2 separate regions of the Homo sapiens genome follow, and region 1 is linked to region 2. Evidence: promoter capture Hi-C in human tissues and cell types (Jung and others, 2019). All regions are on one chromosome and are shown on one strand. The core of a region is centred on a gene start or on the middle of the fragment in contact, and the rest is flanking DNA. Distances in the headings are between cores, read along the strand shown. Region 1 has its middle 16 kb from the start of GRXCR2. Region 2 holds the start of PLAC8L1 (PLAC8 like 1).

What was found. The method cuts DNA at HindIII sites, captures the fragments that hold promoters and counts their contacts. A contact is called where the count stands out against the background at its distance.
Region 1: a contact is called between a fragment that was not itself captured here and the fragment with the promoter of PLAC8L1 in region 2, in 1 of the 25 tissues and cell types used here (mesendoderm cells).

Annotation. Positions count from the first base shown.
Region 1 is chr5:145,887,871-145,890,859 of GRCh38, reverse strand. It overlaps a transcript of GRXCR2 not described here. Among named protein-coding and RNA genes, the nearest start is that of GRXCR2, 16 kb to the right of the region's middle. The HindIII fragment of the contact is 4,676 bases long and covers 1-2,989 here.
Region 2 is chr5:146,104,066-146,107,122 of GRCh38, reverse strand. It overlaps PLAC8L1 (PLAC8 like 1), which reads left to right and starts at 1,546. Exons shown (of 4, transcript NM_001029869.3): 1 at 1,546-2,930. The coding sequence starts at 2,812. The HindIII fragment of the contact is 8,663 bases long and covers 1-3,057 here.

The DNA.
Region 1 (2,989 bases), core at 440-2,939, 220 kb after region 2:
TCAATGAGTCTTTTTTTTTTTTTAATTCAACTTGCCCTTCTGTGACTTTTAAACGGGGTGTTTAGACCATCTGCATTCAAAATTAATATTAACATGTGAAATTTTGAGCATATCATGAAGTTGTTAGTTGTCTGCTTTGTATTTCTATGGTGTTTTTGCTCTACAGGGTCTGCAGGCTATGTGTTTAGCTGTGTTTTTGTGGTAACAGGTATCATTCTTTTGCTTCCATGTTTAAAACTCCCTTAAAGGTCTCTTATAAGACTGGTCTAGTGGTAACAAATTCCCTCAGTGCTTGCTTGACTGGAAAATATTTTATTTCTCCTTCAGTTCTCTTGAATTATTTTTTCAAATATACTTTCCAGGTTGTTTGCTTTTTCTGCTTCTCTCTCAGGAATGCCAGTAATTTATAGATTTGGTGACTTCACATAATCCCATATTTCTCGAAGTCTTTGCTCATTTAAAAAAATTCCTGCCAGGTGCAGTGGCTCACACCTGTAATCTCAGCACTTTGGGAGGCTGAGGTGGGCAGATTACTTGAGGTCAGAAGTTCAAGACCAGCCTGGCCAACATGATGAAACTCCTTCTCTACTAAAAATACAAAAATTAGCTAGGCATGGTGGCACATGCCTGTAATCCCAGGTATTCAGGAGGTTGAGGGCAGGAGAAATGCTTGAACCTGGGAGGCAGAGGTTGTAGTGAGCCACAGTTATGTCACTGCACTCCAGCCTGGCAACAGAAGAAGATGCTGTCTTTTTAAAAAACAAACAAACAAAACAAAAACTTTTGTCTTTATTTTTGTCAGATTGGTTTAGTTCAAAAGTCTGGTCTTTAATCTCTGAAATTATTTCTTCTGCTTAGTCCAGTCTATTGACAAAGCTTTCAATTGTATTTTGAAACTCCTTACATGAGTATTTTAATTCCAGAAGCTCAGATTGCTTTCTTTTTAAGATGTTTATCTCTTCCTTCATTTTCTGGACTGCTTTGCTGTCTTTTTAAGATGTTTATCTCTTCCTTCATTTTCTGGACTGCTTTGGAAGTTTCTTTCTGTTGATTTTCAACCTTGTCTTGGATCTCAGTGAGCTTTCTTGCAATCCATGCTTTGAATTCTTTACCTGTCATTTCCGAGTTTCCATTTTGTGTAGGGACCATTGCTAGAAAGCTAATGCAATGCTTTGGTGGTATTGCCACATTCAGATTTTTCATGGTGGCAGAATTCTTGTGCCAGTTCCTTCTCATCTGGAGACACCGGTACTTCTAATTTTTGTATTTATTTTTCTATGGGTAGATTTTTTCCTCTTCTTTCTTTCCTTCAAAAAGTGAGTGATGTGGAGAGCAAAACATGCCCAGAAGTTCCCAAAAGCTTGGAGATGCAACAGCAGATGACAGCTGGGAGTTCTAAGACATATTTTTATTTTTATTTATGTACTGTATTTGCATAGGTTATTGGGGCACAGGTGGTATTTGGTTACATGAGTAAGTTCTTTAGTGGTGATTTGTGAGATTTTAGTGCACCCATCACCCAAGCAGTATACATTGTACCCTATTTGTAGTCTTTTATCCCTTGCCTCCCAACCCCAACACTTCCCCCCAAGTCCCCAGAGTCCATTGCATAATTCTTTCTTTCTTTCTTTCTTTCTTTCTTTCTTTCTTTCTTTCTTTCTTTCTTTCTTTCTTTCTTTCTTTCTTTTTTTGAGACAGAGTCTCGGTCTGTCACCCAGCTCAAGCTGGAGTGCAGTGGTGCGATCTCGGCTCACTGCAACCTCTGCCTCCAGCTTCCAGGTTCAGGCGATTCTCCTGCCTCAGGATTACAGGCGCCTGCCACCACGCCCGGCTAGTTTTTATATTTTTAGTAGAGACAGGGTTTCACCATGTTGGCTAGGCTGGTCTCAAACTCCTGGCCTCAAGTGACCTGCCCACCTCGGCCTCCCAAAGTGCTGGGATTACAGGCGTGAGCCACTGCACCCGGCCCATTGTGTCATTCTTATGCCTTTGTGCCAAGACCTATTTTTCAATAAAAGGAAAAATGAAGTTGTAAAGCTATACACACACAGAGTGTATAACTTCACTTATGTTTTTAAGAAAAACCCATTAAAATTATTTGTATCTTGCATACATATGTATATAAATGCATAAAATGTTGAGAAGGACATATTCTAGATTTATAGTAATAGTTATTTTTTAGGAAAAATGAAGACTTTTTTGTTCTTTACCTGCATCTCTAGTTTTTGAATTTATACAAAACACTGTATTCGTGTATTACTTTTATATTTTTATGTAGATTTTCTAAGCTGGTGTAAATTTTGAAAAAAATTAAGCATATGTGCCAAAACCTTGGCATCCTTGTTACATTCTCCTAGATCAAGTAACCTGCACAGGTTGTTAGCAGAGAGGTTTGAAATGGATCGGGGGTCTCTGACCAGTGGATTGTTCTTGCCCACTTGGCCCGATCCCTACTTCCCCAGACCCACATATTTTTCTACGCTCCACCGTGAGCACCTTGGGAGAAGGCTTACATTGTTTGGGTTGCTGCTGTAGCCCTGTCTTCCAGGACCCCATGCTTTAGACTTAGTAGATACAAAGTATGTATTTGTTTAATTGAAATAGCTCTTTCCTGTCCTCTGGAGCCACACAATCACATCCTTTCCTAGTGCATTCCGTGATGCAGCCTGAGTTCCCTCTCCTCCCTGCAGGTGGCAGAGTCTTCATCAGCTTTAACTAGCCATGCTTACTAGAGCAGTGGCTCTTAATCCATCAGACATAATGCATGCTTTCAGTAACACTTCCTAACCCTCTGCACTATTCTGGAATAAAATTAATAAATTAAACAATTACCTGCAAATATAACTTTAAAAAACCAATATAATGCCCTTGCTCTAATATAAAGAGAAATAAAAGGAAAGTAATTGATATAAAATACTACATATTTTAAAAACAAATGCTTGGATGTGATTTCCCTAGAAGTTATTGTAAAATAGGCACTCTGTGTATG
Region 2 (3,057 bases), core at 297-2,796:
TGTATGGAATGATATAGTGAGTAACCTCATGAATAATGTCATTTCACTTTTGTGGAGGTATATCTTCAGAGTAAATTTGTAGAAGTGGGCTTGTGGGTCTGAGGGTAAATGCATATGTAGTTTTGTTAGCACGTATGTGGTCAAAAGCATTTTTTGCCCTGAGGCAGGGGCATGTAGCTGGTGTGCTGAAGGAATAGCAAGGAAGCCACATGAAGAAACAGGTCAAAGTCACTGGCTCAAGATCCTATGTATTAGCAGCAGAGTTGAATTAGAGCCCTGGCCTCCATCTTCATTGCACTTAGACAACAAAGAATTCGTGCATGGAAAACAGGAATGTATTTGACCAAGGCCAGTGTTACCAGGGCCATTAGGAGGTCAGAGAAAGGAGAAGTTTATATGGACCCCAGTCAGGTAGAAAATACTTCACCCCAAAATTTACAGCATCAATAAGATTTGTAATGGCCCTCTGCTGTGCATAGAGCTTGTATTAGTGTGTTTTCTTTTCTTTTTCTTTTTTTTTTTTTTGAGACAGAATCTTGCTCTGTCATCTAGACTGGAGTGCAGTCGAATGATCTTGGCTCACTGCAACCTCTGCCTTCCAGGTTCAAGCGATCCTCTTGCCTCAGCCTCCTGAGTAGCTGGGATTACAGTGCCTGCCACCACGCCTGGCTAATTTTTGTATTTTTAAGTAGAGATGGGGTTTCACCACGTTGGCCAGGCTGGTCTGAAACTCCTGACCTCAGATGATCTGCCCGTCTCAGCCTCCCAAAGTGCTGGGATTACAGGTGTGAGCCACTGCATCTGGCCTAGTGTGTTTTTATACTGCTATAAAAAACTACCTGAGACTGGGTAATTTATTTAAAAAAGAGTTTTAATTGACTCAGTTCCACAGGCTATACAGGAGGCATGGCTGGGGAGGCCTCAGGAACCTACAATCATGGAGGAAGGGTGAAGGGTAATGTTAAAGATACATTTTGATCACTTCTAGGACCTTCTGATGTAAAGGCATATTTGTTAAAATCACACCCAGAGCTTTTATTGTAAGGGTACTTTTTTTTTCTTACACTTTCAGAACTTTCCAATGTAAATATGCATTTTGAGTACTTCTGGAATTTTTCATAGTTAAGGTACATTTTCTCTTTTGCAATTAGAAATATGTGGAATAGTTATATTTTTGCACCTTGAGAATATTTGGTTCCTAATCTTTTTTATCTAATGGTTTTAATGCTTCTGAATTTCCTTCCTGATATGTTGTTATGCTGGGGCTATGCAAAATGGTGATATTCTAATGCTATTATTTCTTTTTCATAAATATTTGGCATTCTTTTATAAAGCACATGCCTTTTCTATTCTTTTCATTTTATTTTTAAATGAAAAAGCTGTGTAGCATGTGGATTAGTCACTTCATACAATAGACGTTTGATTAGAAAAGTTGGGCGCAAATGAAATGTAAAAATATGGAGTCATAGCTTATATGTACCATGGTGGTTTACTCTTCAAAGGAATCTTACTGTAAATCTTTTTTTTTTTTTTTTTTTTTTTTTGCAAAGCTAGTAATCACCTCTTAATTTCTGTTATTCTTATAAACCTGAATTTTCATGTAGGGCACATTTATTCAACAAATTATTGAGTGCTTTTTATGTGCCAGACACTGTGGTCAGCACTTGGAATAGAGTAGTAAGCAGAAAAAACATACCTGTCCTTAATGTAGGGTACATCCTTACTGTTAAGAAGACAATGACAGTTGCCCAGAACCCCATGATTGAAGGCAGTTATGAAGCTATGTCTGAGGAATCTTGATTTGGAAGGTATTATAGGCTTTTCCTAACAACCTGGTTCAATAAATGCTTTGAAGTTCAGAACCCTAAGCAACCATTCTCTATGGGTCTGATGAAAAGAATATATGATATAATTGGCAGTATCCTCCTGATGTCTTTCTAATGTAATGTCAAATTATGATTGCAGAGCCCTTTCCTCAACGTGAAATTTTGCCTAATTTTTTGTCTTAGGATATTTCCTAATATTTCTAGGGTCCACACCTCCATAAGACATGTGCCAGAGGCATGATTCAGAGGCTCCTGAGACCTTGAGGATTCAGAGCTGTTGTGAGGACATCACCAGGCAAGCCTTGCTTCAGTTACTAGATTCCGTCTGGACTGGGTAGGAAAGAAATGCCACTTTCCTGGCATTATCAATGAAGTTAATGGAAGAGCAGAGAATTTCTAGAAGTTCTGAAAAGGCTTTGAGGCTTGTGACAATCTACCATAGCTCAAACTTGAGGAGACCACCTTTCATAAGATGGATTCAAATACAATACCTGCGCTGAAAGACTTTTTTTTGCTCCTGCTTTTGGGTTGGCTATGGGACTTGCATCATCTGGCTGAATTGGACCAGCAGTTCAGGGGATGAAGAGAGGTCTCTGCTGCTTCTCAGTCACATGGCATGGCAGAAATTTTCAGCCTTCTGAATCTTCCAAGGAACGGTCAAGTGGCACTTAGCTAGATAAATGTTTACTAGAGGCATCTCTTAAAGAGTTTTCCACCAAAGATAAGTCTTTTTCTTCTATTTACTCTATACTCCAGCAATATCTCCCTACAGATTAGTAAGATGAATGTGTCCACAGTTAGGTGTATACCTGTTTTTAAAGAAAAAAGATGTCTGTTAGTTACACTGCTATGACCTCAGGTTCCAGAATATTAAGGGAACATTCTTTCAAGAGATGTTTCACTTTGGACTAATCCGAAGTTTAGAAACCAGCTTATTGCCAAAGGGAAAAAGGATAGCCCAAAGGACAAGAAAACACTTCTCACTATGAATTGGTTTGGAAGTAACTTCTTCAGGTGTCCTGAGGATCTTTCCTTACTCAACATATACTCACCTCTGTTGTCACACATGTCATCTGAAGATGAACATTTTATTTCCAACTTGAGGTAGGGAATAGGGTGAGTTTTTCCCCTAGCTTTTGCTCTTTAGTTGGACTATCGAATCAACCTCTACTTATAAGGAACCAGGGAAAAGAAAACTGGGCTTGGGAAGAAAGTGGTTGCTATCTTTTCT